Linked DNA regions of Homo sapiens: regions 1 and 2 are each linked to region 3. Evidence: promoter capture Hi-C in human tissues and cell types (Jung and others, 2019). All regions are on one chromosome and are shown on one strand. The core of a region is centred on a gene start or on the middle of the fragment in contact, and the rest is flanking DNA. Distances in the headings are between cores, read along the strand shown.

Region 1 (4,347 bases), core at 158-2,657, 150 kb before region 3:
CCTGGGAGGCGGAGCTTGCCAAGATTGCGACACTGCACTCCAGCCTGGGTGACAGAGCGAGACTCCGTCTCAAAAAAAAGAATTATACTTCTGAATTAATATTACCAGATGCATTCAGATTTAGACATTTTCTTTCTAGTACATTTGTTTCCTATACTGTTATAATTTTGTCTAAGAAATTCTTTTTTTTTTTTTTGAGACAGATTCTCGCTCTGTTACCCAGGCTGGAGTGCAGTGCCGTGATCTTGGCTCACTGCAACCCCCCCGCCAAGGTTCAAGTGATTCTCCTACCTCAGCCTCCTGAAGAGCTGGGATTACAGGCACCCGCCACCACACCCGGCTAATTTTTGTATTTTTAGTAGAGACGGGGTTTCACTATGCTGGCCAGGCTGGTCTCGATCTCCTGACCTTGTGATCTGCCCACCTCGGCCTCCCAAAGTGCTGGGGTTACAGGCGTGAGCCACCGCGCCCAGCCTAATAAATTCTTGTTTATTCATAATGACAAAAACTTACGTAACGGTTTTATAAATTTAAGTATTAAATAAGTCTAGCAAAAGACATAAAAAGATAACTAATAAAACAAGTTTAAACTTTATTGGAGCCCAGTAGCAATGGCTCACGCCTGTAATCCCAGGACCCACCGAGGCGGGTGGATCACCTGATGTGAGGAGTTCGAGACCACGCTGGCCAACATGGTGAACATGGTGAAACCTTGTCTCTACTAAAAATACAAAAAATTGGCCAGGCGTGGTGGCAGGCGCCTGTAATCCCAGCTACTTGGGAGGCTGAGGCAGGAGAATCGCTTGAACCCGGGAGGCAGAGGTTGCAGTGAGCCAAGATTGCGCCACTGCACTCCAGCCTGGGCGACAAGAGTAAGACTCCATCTCAAAAAAAAAAAAATTTTTTTTTTGGATAATATCAAGGCAGAATAAAGTATAGTATCAAACTTGACAAGGTAGATAATAGGGAATGCAGAATAAAGGATCGGGCTTCAGTAAGTGACAATCTCATCATGAATTCATTTATAGTTCCACCATGTAATATGTCTTAAATACTATTTCTTTTTTTTTAATACTATTTCAAGAACTGCTCATGAGTTAGGAAATAGTGAGCAGTAATACAGAAATAACGGCAGGACCAGGGGCAGTGGCTCACACTTGTAATTCCAAAGCTTCGGGAGGCTGAGGCAGGAGGATCACTTGAGCACAGGAGTTCAAGGCCAGTCTGGGCACATAGTGAGACACAGTCTCTATAAAAAGAAATTTTTAAAAGTATCTAGGCATGGTGATGTGCACTTGTAGAGCCAGCTACTCAGGAGGCTGAGGGTGGAGGATGGCTTGAGACCAAGAGGTCCAGGCTGCAATGAGTTATCTTGCCACTGTACTCCAGCCAGGGTGACAGAATGAGACCGTGTGTCAAATTAAAAAGAAAAAAAGAAACAATAATTATTTCCCTGGCCGGGCGCGGTGGCTCACGCCTGTAATCCCAGCACTTTGGGAGGCTGAGGCGGGTGGATCACGAGGTCAGGAGATCAAGACCATCCTGGCTAACCCGGTGAAACCCTGTCTCTAGTAAAAAATACAAAAAATTAGCTGGGCGTGGTGGCAGGTGCCTGTAGTCCCAGCTACTCGGGAGGCTGAGGCAGGAGAATGGCGTGAACCCAGGAGGCGGAACTTGCAGTGAGCAGAGATCGAACCACTACACTCCAGCCTGGGCGACTGAGTGGGACTCTGTCTCAAAAAAAAAAAGAGACAAAAGGTATATTTATGGTTCAGCCTCATTTCTGCAAATATTAAAAATTTTAGGGCATGATGTATACATTTTATATATATATATATATAGTGTGTGTGTGTGTGTGTGTGTGTGTGTGTGTGTGAATGTGTGTGACGGAGTTTTGCTCTGTTGCCAGGCTGGAGTGCAGTGGTGCGATCTCAGCTCACTGCAACCTCCACCTCCCAGGTTCAAGCGATTCTCCTGCCTCACCCTCCCAAGTGGCTGGGAATACAGGCGTGCCCCGCCACGCCCAGCTAATTTTTTGTATTTTTAGTACAGGTGGGGTTTCACCTTGTTGGCCAGGATGGTCTCGATCTCTTCACCTCGTGATCTGCCCGCCTTGGCCTCCCGCAGAGCTGGGATTACAGGCGTGAGCCACCGCACCAGGCCCATGTCATATGTTTTTATGAGTTTGGACATTGGCATCTGGGACCAGGTACTTCATCTGGATTTGAACCACAATGTGGGTGTTTGTTTTTAATACCTTTGTGAAATAATTTTAAATTGCCTTATATATTTGGCATTGTCACTTTGCTGCCCCTACACACTGATGGAAAAATTGTGTTCTGCAGAAAACTAGAGTTCCTCACAGGGTGAGGAAGAGTTATGGTCATCTGCACAGTTGTAGCCCGTTGCGAGTGTTTTCCCATGTGCACAGTGATATCTAGGCAAGTGTGCCATGATTTCCTGGTGAGGATAAAATCTATGGACGGTGAGAGAACTAGTCAAGGAATAACTGAAGTGAGCTGCAGACAGGATTATCATTTTGAGTAACATCCCAATGTATTTGTCATCCTTTAATTAATTTTTATTTTTTTAATTAAAAAATAATTTTTAAGTGTAAACCTTTAATGATCCACAAAGCCCAAAATGTCCATTTGATTTTCATAGGTATCGTTTCCATATGCTTAGACTTCCAGCAGCTATTAGAAGAGAAAAATATGTAACAGCTTTGTGTTTAATTAAAGGCAAATGAAATCCAGTCTGTGTCCATTTTCAATGTTAATAGTCTTGATAGCGGGCCGGGCGCAGTGGCTCACGCCTGTAATCCCAGCACTTTGGGAGGCTGAGGTGGGCAGATCACCGGAGGTCGGGAGTTCGAGACCAGCCTGACCAACATGGAGAAACGCTGTCTCTACTAAAAATACAAAAATTAGCTGGGCATGGTGGTGCGTGCCTGTAATCCCAGCTACTTGGGAGGTTGAGGCAGGAGAATTGCTTGAACCCGGGAGGCGGAGGTTGCAGCGAGCCGAGATGGCGTCACTGCACTCCAGCCTGGGCAACAAAAGCGAAACTCCACCTCAAAAAAAAAATAGTCTTGATAGCACTGCAAAGACTTCGTGTCATTTCACAATCACAGTTAGCTTATTTGATCACTCCTTCCCTACATTCCTCTCATTGTACAAATTGGTACCAGATGGAAAGTGCTGACTGTGAGATGTCCAGGTTCTTGACGCATTGAACAAAGAATTGAACAAAACACACAAAGCAATGACAGCGCAGATTTATTTAAATGAAAGTACACTCCACGGAGCGGGAGCCGGCCCTAGCGGGCAGCTCAAGAGCCCTGATTGCAATGTTCTTTAGGGTTTTTATAAGGCTACAAGAATTTTGTAACACCCCTAGGTGCCCTTTAGAGAACTCCAATTGGTTACCCCCTATGAAGGATTCGCCTGCAACCAATCAGAGGCTGAAGTGAAGACTTGGCCATGGCCAATCAGAGGCTGAGGTGGAGACTTGGCCCTGTCAAATCAGAGTCTGAAGTGGAGACTTCTATCTTGTTATCACAGCAGTGAGGATGTGGCCTGTTTCTGCCTAATCTTGCCTAGAAGTGGCTGCACCTGCTGTTCCTTTGCTTATGCCTTAACTGGTTATCCTAATTCCCTATTCTCCTGCCTCAAAATGACAAGTTAATCACAAGCAGCAGACTCATGGTTAACCTTACATATCCCAAAATAGTAATGGAATGTCTCCATAGTGAAAGCCTGATGTGTCTTACCACCTGTATTGGGCACTGTTCGAATTTTTATATTTCAAGACAAGTCATCTTCTTCTGGATAAAAAATAAAATTACACAGTTTGCCAAGTATGGCATTAGGTGTTTTGTTGTTGTTGTTGTTTGTTTGTTTTGAGATGGAGTTTTGCTCTTGTTGCCCAGGCTGGGGTGCAATGGCGTGATCTCAGCTCACTGCAACCTCCAACTCCCAGGTTCAAGTGATTCTCCTGCCTCAGCCTCCCAAGTAGCTGGGGTTACAGGCGCATGCCACCACACCCAGCTAATTTTGTATTTTTAGTACAGACAGGGTTTCACCATGTAGGCCAGGCTGGTCTCGAACTCCTGACCTCAGGTGATCCACCCACCTCGGCCTCCGAAAATGTTGGGATTACAGGCGTGAGCCACCGTGCCCGGCCAGCGTTAGTTTTTAACCAGAGTATTCAAAAGCATCCATTTATATGACATTCTGGATAGAGCAAGAGTATAGGAATTTAGAACCAGATGAGGCATTAAGGGTCACAGGACAGTTTGTCTCCAAAAGGGCAGAAGGAGGCTTTTAGGGGTGACAGAGTGTTTTG
Region 2 (3,889 bases), core at 189-2,688, 200 kb after region 3:
CACCAACCACTCCTGGCTGATTTTTTTTTTTTTTTTTCTCAAACAGAGTTTCACTCTTGTTGCCCAGGCTGGAGTGCAATGGCGCAATCTCGGCTCACTGCAATCTCCGCCTCCCGGGTTCAAGCGATTTTCCTGCCTCAGCCTCCTGAGTAGCTGGGATTACAGGCATGCACAACCATGCCTGGCTAATTTTTGTGTTTTTAGTAGAGACAGAGTTTTCTCCATGTTGATCAGGCTGGTCTCGAACTCCTGATCTCAGGTGATCCACCTGCCTCAGCCTCCCAAAGTGCTGGGATTACAGGTGTGAGCCATCGTGCCTGGCCTGTTTTCTTATTTTTTACAGCAATGGCGTCTCACTATGTTGCTCAGGCTGGTCTCCAACTCCTGGGCTCAAGTGGTCCTCCTGACTCTGCTTCTCAAAGTGCTGGGATTACAGGTGTGAGCCACCACGGCCAGCACGTATTATTATTTTTATTAATATTATTGATGAGTTTCATACGTAAAGGATCACGGGCACTTTAGAGCTGGGAGATACTTCAGTATTTCTCCTATCCTGTCATTATCAGTGCGAGCCAGTCTCCCTCCTTGTTGATGACATTATTGATGAGTTACATACTTAAAGGGCCAAGGACACTTTCTATGTGTAAGCACCCTATAGAACTGGAAGATACTTTTACCATTTCTCCTGTGCTGTCGTGATTAGTGGGAGCACTTTGTCTTGCTCTTGATTAATTATTATTAGTGTTGTTATTATTAGGTGTTTTTTTTTTTTTTTTTTACCAAGACGGAGTTTTGCTCTTGTTGCCCAGGCTGGAGTACAATGGCACAATCTTGGCTCACTGCAACCTCCGCCTCCTGGGTTCAAGTGATTATCCTGCCTCAGCCTCCCGAGTAGCTGGGATTACAGGCACCCCCCGCCACCGAGCCCAGCTAATTTTTGTATTCTTTAGTAGAGACGGGGTTTCACCGTGTTAGCCAGTCTGGTCTCGAACTCCTGACCTCAAGTGATCCACCCACCTCGGCCTCCCAAAGTGCTGAGATGACAGGCGTGAGCCACCGCGCCCAGCCATATTATTAGTGTTATTAATATTATTGATGAGTTACCTACTTTAAGGATCACGGGCGCTTTCAACGACAAGCCCCCTACATTATCCCAGCAACTTTTGACATTCTTCCGGCCGATGCCCTCCGCGGGAGCCGGCGGGGACCCCTGGGAAGCCGGCTAAGGCCCGTCCCGCCCGCAGCTCCGCCCTCGCCCACCCGTAGGCGGGGCCCGGGGCCTTCCGGCCTCAGTTTCCCCCCGCGGCCCGGGGATGCGGGGAGGCGCCGGCTGCCCCGCGCGGCGCGGCCGCCAGGGGCCGCTGCGGAGCCGCCTTTGTGGTCCCGATGCCGGGGCGGGCGCGGGCGGGAGGAGGGCGCGGGGGCCCGGGAGGGAGGCGGGAGGCGCGGCCGCCGCTCCAGCTGCGAGTCCGCCCGCCGCCCGCCGCCGCCGCCGCCGGCTCGGTCCCGCGCCCGCCATGGCCCGCCTGACGGAGAGCGAGGCGCGCCGGCAGCAGCAGCAGCTCCTGCAGCCGCGGCCCTCGCCCGTGGGCAGCAGCGGGCCCGAGCCCCCCGGGGGGCAGCCCGACGGCATGAAGGACCTGGACGCCATCAAACTCTTCGTGGGCCAGATCCCGCGGCACCTGGACGAGAAGGACCTCAAGCCGCTCTTCGAGCAGTTCGGCCGCATCTACGAGCTCACGGTGCTCAAAGACCCCTACACGGGGATGCACAAAGGTGGGCGCCCGGCCCCCTCCCCCCTCTCCCCCTCCCTCCGCCTCCCACCCCACCTTCCGGCATCTTCTCTCCCCCATCACCATCCCTCCTCTGCTCACCTCCCTCCTCTGCCTGCCTCTGCCGGAGCATCGGTTCTTACCCCCTCCCTCCCACCCACCCCTCCTCCCCTCTCTGGGGGTGCAGCTGACAGATCCGAGCGGGCCCCCTCCCCTCCTCCGCCCCCTCTCCCTCCCTCCCCACCTTCCGGCATCTCCTCTCTCTCTCCCTCTCTCTCTCCCTCTCTCTCTCCCTTTCTCTTCTCTCCCATCTCCCTCGACCTCTCATCCTTCCCCCCACAGCACCCTCTCTCTCCCTCCCTCCCTCCCTCACCCTTCCATCCCCCAGACCCCCACCCCTTCCTCCCTCCCTCACCCCACTCTTTCCTGCCCGTTTGCCAGGGGAGCCTCGGGAACGCCGGCACCCCTCCCTGCCCCCCCACCCCCATTCATTCAGCCTCCCCAGGCCCCGTCGGGGAAGTTTGCACCTGCGGACTCCATTGCTTTGGTTATTTTCACAAAGCCAGGCCGGCGGGGCAGGTCCGGCCGCGGGGGACACGGATGCCCAGGACCCCAGGCTAATCGGTAACTACAAAGGAAGACGGGTTGGGGGCGCCCGGCTCGGGGGGACGCGCCCGCCTCGCCTGCCTCGGGTGGCGGAGAGGCTCCCGTCGCTGCCCACCCCCTGGCCCCACCACCTCCGCGTGGATCAGCATTCTCTCCTCCATTTCTCTGCCCTCCCCCTCCCCCGCCTCCACCTTGGGCTCAAGTTGAAACTGGCCGAGCCTCTTAGCAATGTGTTGGGGTCTCAGGCCCAAGACAATGAGCTTGGACGTGTCCATCTGGGCAGAGCCCAAATTCTGGGGTGGACAGGGAGGAGGAGGGAGGCGTGGGCGGCCTCAGGCCTGTCTGCCTCCCTCCCACTGGATTCTCCCTCCGATGGCATCCCGGGTGGGGGTGTCCGGCAATTGTATCCCCAGCCCTTGGTTCCCATCATGGGCCCAGCGTCTGAATTGGGGTGGCTTTGACAGCCTTCCGGTCAGGTGTTGGGGACTGGGGGTGCCACTTCAAAGGCCTTGTGCTGGACACCCCCGGCCCTCCCCCTCCCATCCTCCAGGAAGACCCTGGAGAGGCCTTGGGGAAGGACCGGGGCCCATGACCTATTTTACACCCACTTTTTCCCCAGCGCTGCGTGCCCGGTAAGCATGAATGCATGTTTATTGAATGAATGAATTGAATGAATGAATGAATGAATGAATGAATGAATGAAGGGGTTCAAGAAGGCCCTAGGGAGGGTCTGGTGAGATGGGGCCCAGGCCTGTCACTTCAGCTAGACCCTCCAGCTGGTTATCTTGAGGGAGGAAAGAAACCCCTCCCCATTCCCCATCTCTTTTCAAAACCAACCATCACACACACACACACACACACACACACACACACACAAAATTGGGCCTGAAAAATCTAACTCCTCCATGTGGCCTAGGAGGGCAGAGGGGCTCCCATGCGGCCCCCATAAGTCAATATCTGGAGTCCAGAGGTGATAGGTGGGCTTTTCCCACACGCCCCCACCCCTGGGTACACCCAAAGCACCCATTTCTAGAAAGATTCCCGTGGGAATGGGGGAGTCCACATGGCCCCCCAAACGGTTGCATTGAAAGGCCGCTGGTTGAGCTCTAGGTCGGAGAGACAGGTGGGGGTGCAGGGACTGGAGCATCCTGGTGACTCTTCTTCATCTTTTTTTTTTTTTCCTTCTTATTTTTAAATCTCTGGGAAACCTGGGCACGGGAGAAGTGAGGGGTGAAGGAGGGGCTGGGGCTGGGTTTTCACCTGGCCCTGAGCCTCAGTTTCCCTGCTGTCAACAGAGCAGGACCATGACGCATCCCCAGTTCTTTTTTTACAGGTTGGAGAATGTTGGGGTCCCTGGGGTACCTCGGGGGTATTTCCCATTTGCGGGCTTTCCTTGGAGGGTGAGAATTGAGAAGCCGTGTGCACGACAGCCGGCAATCACCCTCCACTTTTTAGGGGTCCCAGGTCCGTCTGTGTGTGAGATACAGGGGCTTCACCTCGTGTCGAAAATG
Region 3 (4,404 bases), core at 1,296-3,795:
ACACCTCAGAACCTTTTAACACATCTCAGTACACAGATAGGACAATCTCAGAACCCTGAGGTTTATCTCTGACCCTTGAGGTCTATCTCTGAACCCTGAGGTCTATCTCAGAACCTTGAGGTCTATCTCAGAACTCTGAGGTCTATCTCTGACCCTTGAGGTCTATCTCTGAACCCTGAGGTCTATCTCAGGACCTTGAGGTCTATCTCAGAACCCTGAGGTCAATTTCAGAAATTTGAGGTCTATCTCAGAACCCTGAGGTCAATCTCAGAGCCCTGAGGTCTATCTCAGAACCTTGAGGTCTATCTCAGAAAACTGAGGTCAATCTCAGAACCGTGAGGTCTATCTCAGAACACTGAGGTCAATCTCAGAACCCTGAGGTCTATCTCTGAACCTTGAGGTCAATCTCAGAACCCTGAGGTCTATTTCAGAACCCTGAAGTCTGTCTCAGAACCTTGGATCACACTGAGAAGCTCCAGAAGAGGCTCAGAGCCTTACGACACTGGAGTCAATCTCAAAGCCCTGAAGACAGCCACAGAGTTTTGAGGTCTATTTTGGAGTAGTGGGGTCACAGTCTGAACCATGGCATCAAATTCAGGGCCTGGAGAACAATCTTGGAACCTTCCAGCCAATCACACTGAGACCAATCTCAGAAGCTTCAAAGCAGCAACAGAACCTGGGGTCCATCTCAAAACTTCAGACTTTCTGGGTTGAAAGGGACCTCTAAGAGTGGCCATCCAGCTCCCTCCTAGGACAGAAGTCACTTCCACAGCCTCCCTGGCCTGGCTGCCCTGCCTCTGCTATGTGCCCTCCTTGATGGGGATGCCTGGTGGCCCCTGCCCACTGCCTGCATCTCTGCTGGACGCTCCAACTGCTAGATACTGTCTTCAGAAGGTGGGACTCATTTTCCTTCCACGAGGCTGAAATCTGTCTTCCTGGTCCCAGATGGGCCCTCTGTGACCTCTGCGGAGATTTCAGGATGAGACCCGTGTTCCCTAGGTCTGCTCTGGCCCCGGCTGCCCACTCTGGGTCCTTCTCAGGGCTTCCAGACCCCCACCCTCCCTCCTGAACACGCGTAACCCCAACCCAGTTACCTGCTTATGCATTTCAATGTTGAGCCCGTACGACATCTCATAATACTGCAAAGGAAAAACCAAGTAAGAACGTCTAGGGTGGAGATGGGTGCCCTCCTCCAGATAGGTGATGCCAGGGTCTTCCAAGAGTCCCCAGGTTCAGGGGAATCACAGCAGGAAGCAGAGCCCCCCCCAGCTCCACGGGGTCCCAGAGGAGGAAGCGGGGGCTCTGCCTGGAAGGGCCCCCTCTACTCTCCCCAGAGAGGCAGGGCAGGTAGGAAGTGTCCAGAGGCCCTGGCCCGACAGAGACTCCCATCAGGCGAGGGGTCCTCCCTGTCTCCCCATTCCCAGAGCTGGGAGGACCCTCCTAGAGAGCCTGAAATCCCAACCTGCCCAATGTACAGACGGGGAAGACGAGGTTCGGAGTGGGGCAGGGACCTACCCCAGAGTCCACCGTGACTCAAAGCCCTGCCCGCCTCTCCCCTCACCCTGGCATCATAAGTGCCCTCACCATGACATAATGTCGCTGCATTTCCGTCTTCTCGCTGGCCAGCTTCTCACATTCTAGCTTGAGGCTGAGAAGAAGAGAGAGGGCAAGGGGCTCCCACCCGCCCCATGTGGGCCGGCTTCCAAAGTGAGAGGCTGGATCTCCCCCTCCCGACTTCCTTACAGACCTCCCCCCACCTCCTGTCCCAGTCCCTCCCCGCCCCTTCCTGGGCTCCAAATGCCCCAGCTCTGACTGTCCCCAGACCCCTCTGCACCTGCGCTTCCACCTGGAGGCCTTTGTCGCGCCCCCCCTCCAACCGGGAGCCCCTCCTCCCCGCCCTATACCCCGGAGGCCTCGCCCCGCCCCGGCGCCCAGGTGAACTCCCGCGGCCCCTGGGGCGGCCCCCCTCACCTGTGGTATTGAGCCTGAAGAAACTGGAATTCTTCTTTGATGCGGTCGCAGATCTCCAAGATCGAGAACTTGAAGGGCTGGCCGGACTGGAGCGGGGTCTGGGGGGGGTGTGGGGGAAACGTCAGGGTCTGAGTTCCCGGACACTGGGGGCCCCCTCCCCGCAGTCCGCACTCACCGGGTGCCTTCCCTGGGGGTACATCCTGCCGATCCGAAAAGCCCCCCAGGCGCCACCAGAGCTTGATGATATGGAGGCGGCAAGAGTGGGGGAGGCTGAAGTGGGGTGGTGGGGAGGCTGCCCGAAGAAAGAGGGAGGAGGGAGAAGCGGCGCGGGGCAAGGGACCCTGGAGTCCCTGGCGCGCCCCCAAGCGCGCGCGCCCGGGGTCGTGGGAGCCCCTCCCCGGGTTGGGGTGCGCGGGGCGAGCGGGGCGGGCAGGGGCAGCGGCCGGGGCGGGAGCGCGGCGAGGGCGGCCGCGGCAGCCGGCGCAGAAGGTCGGGCGCGCCGCGGCCGGGTTTCGGTGGCGGCGGCGCGGGCGGCGGGCCCCGCGCGGAGCCGCCTCCCTCCGGCGGGGCTCGGCCGGGAGCCGCGGGCTGAGCCGCCTTAAGGTGGCGCCGCCGCCCCCACGCGCCCGCGGCCCGCCCCGCGCCCACCCCCGCGCACCGCCCCTCCCCGCGCCCGCGCCCCCCCCGGCCCCCGGGCACCCGCCCCCTTCCTTCAGTCCCTGGGCCGTTGGGGAAACTGAGGCCGGGTGGGGAGGCGCCCAGTGCCTTAAAACAGGGTCCCCACCCCCTCCCGGAGGGGCGGGAGAAGAAAAACCAGTGAAGAAATTCACACCGTGTTACCCACCGTGGGAGCGGGGGGGGGGGCTTGCGGGGAGCGGGGACCAGTCTGGAGTCGGAAATGGCTTTTCTGAGCAAGTGACATTGGGTTGAGATTGAAGGGTCAGCAGGACGCAGCCTTGCCAAGCGCTGGCAGGGAACCCTGCCAGAAAGGGAATCTCACAGCAAACACTGCTTCCCAGATCATGCCGGGCCCTCGCCCTCTGGGGGCCTCAGTAGTCTCTGCAAAAGGTCAGGGGTGGTGCGCTATCTTTAGGGTTTAATTTTTTGCAGAGATAGGGTCTCCCTGTGTTGCCCAGGCTGGAGTACAGTGGGGCAATCATGGCTCACTGCAGCCTCGAACTCCTGGGCTCAAGCGATCCTTCCCCCTCAGCTTCTCCAGTAGCTGGGACTACAGGTGTGCACCACCACGCCCAGCTAATTTTTTAATTTTTTGCAGAGATGGAGTAGGGGGGCGTCTCACTATGTTGCCCAGGCTGGTCTTGAACTCCTGGACTCAAGCCTCTCTCTTCGGCCTTCCAAAGTGCTGGGATTACGGGCGGGAGCCACCGCACTGGGCACTGCACTTAAATGAGATAGTGCATGAACGCTGTCAGCCTCTCCCTACACAGAGCAAACTTCCACAGATGGGAATTGTGTTCCTACTGCCATCACCAGTGGACTGGGCTGTCTCCCCTCTCAGACTGGGTTTCTTGAAGGCAGGAGCCGTGTCCCACTCAGAACTGGAAGAACCACAGCTCTGCCATCAGACTCAAGTCTCTCCCACGGCAAAGGCTCCAGCCCCGACCAGAGACCACAGACATCCAGCCAGCATCCTTCAGGCCCACCCGGGGAGTGGGAAGTTCTTATTCTCTTTGGAGAAACCTCAGGAGAGGTTTGTGAAGTCAATCAACAAACGTGTACTAAATGCATACTGTGGACCACACACTGCTGTAGACACTGGGGCACAGCTGGGAACAAAACAGAGAAAAATCCATGCCCCTTGATGACACTTGGACTTGTGTCCTTAGGTGATCGAGTACCTAATGGTACCTAAGGGTTAGGGTTACAAAAACCCATTTTGTACCCTTACAAAAGGGCACAAGAGCCCTTATCAATGGGCCAGGGGTGGTGGGTCATGCCTGTAGCTCCAGCACTTTGGGAAGCTGAGGAGGGAGGATCGCTTGAGCCCAGGAGTTCAAGACCAGTGTGGACAACACCGCGACAATACAAAAAAACATTTTTGTGTTTTTTGTATCTCTACAAAAAATACAAAAATAATTAGCCAGGCATGGTGATGCACACCTGTGGTCCCGGCTACTTGGGGGGCTGAGGCGGGAGATACCTGAGCCCCAGAAGGTCAAGGCTGCACTGAGTTGAGATCACATCACTGCACTCCAGCCTGGGTGACAGAGCAGGACCTTGTCTCAAAAAAAAAAAAAAAAAGCCCTTATCAAATTTAAAGCCATCGTTTTCCAGCCCACAGATATTTACAGAGCACCTATGACGTGTCAGGCATCCTTCCAGGCACAGGGATTGTAAGGGTGGATAAGGGAGACAGATCCCTGCCCTCTCTGAGTTTGTGGGATGTGAGTGACAGGCTAGGCAGGTTCACAG

The links. Contacts are between HindIII fragments. The study calls those that stand out against the background at their distance.
Region 1: a contact is called between a fragment that was not itself captured here and the fragment with the promoter of TLE2 in region 3, in 2 of the 25 tissues and cell types used here (adrenal gland and dorsolateral prefrontal cortex).
Region 2: the fragment with the promoter of CELF5 here is called in contact with the fragment with the promoter of TLE2 in region 3 in 8 of the 25 tissues and cell types used here (IMR-90 fibroblasts, aorta, dorsolateral prefrontal cortex and 5 more).

Annotation. Positions count from the first base shown.
Region 1 is chr19:2,880,691-2,885,037 of GRCh38, forward strand. It overlaps ZNF556 (zinc finger protein 556), which reads left to right. Exons shown (of 4, transcript NM_024967.3): 4 at 1-2,755. Among named protein-coding and RNA genes, the nearest start is that of ZNF556, 16 kb to the left of the region's middle. The HindIII fragment of the contact is 5,975 bases long and covers 1-4,347 here.
Region 2 is chr19:3,223,223-3,227,111 of GRCh38, forward strand. CELF5 (CUGBP Elav-like family member 5) reads left to right here and starts at 1,439. Exons shown (of 13, transcript NM_021938.4): 1 at 1,439-1,776. The coding sequence starts at 1,518. RefSeq lists a silencer at 1,260-1,379. The HindIII fragment of the contact is 19,492 bases long and covers 1-3,889 here.
Region 3 is chr19:3,026,735-3,031,138 of GRCh38, forward strand. TLE2 (TLE family member 2, transcriptional corepressor) reads right to left here and starts at 2,546. Exons shown (of 20, transcript NM_003260.5): 1 at 2,147-2,546; 2 at 1,972-2,069; 3 at 1,585-1,648; 4 at 1,095-1,139. The coding sequence starts at 2,170. The HindIII fragment of the contact is 30,131 bases long and covers 1-4,404 here.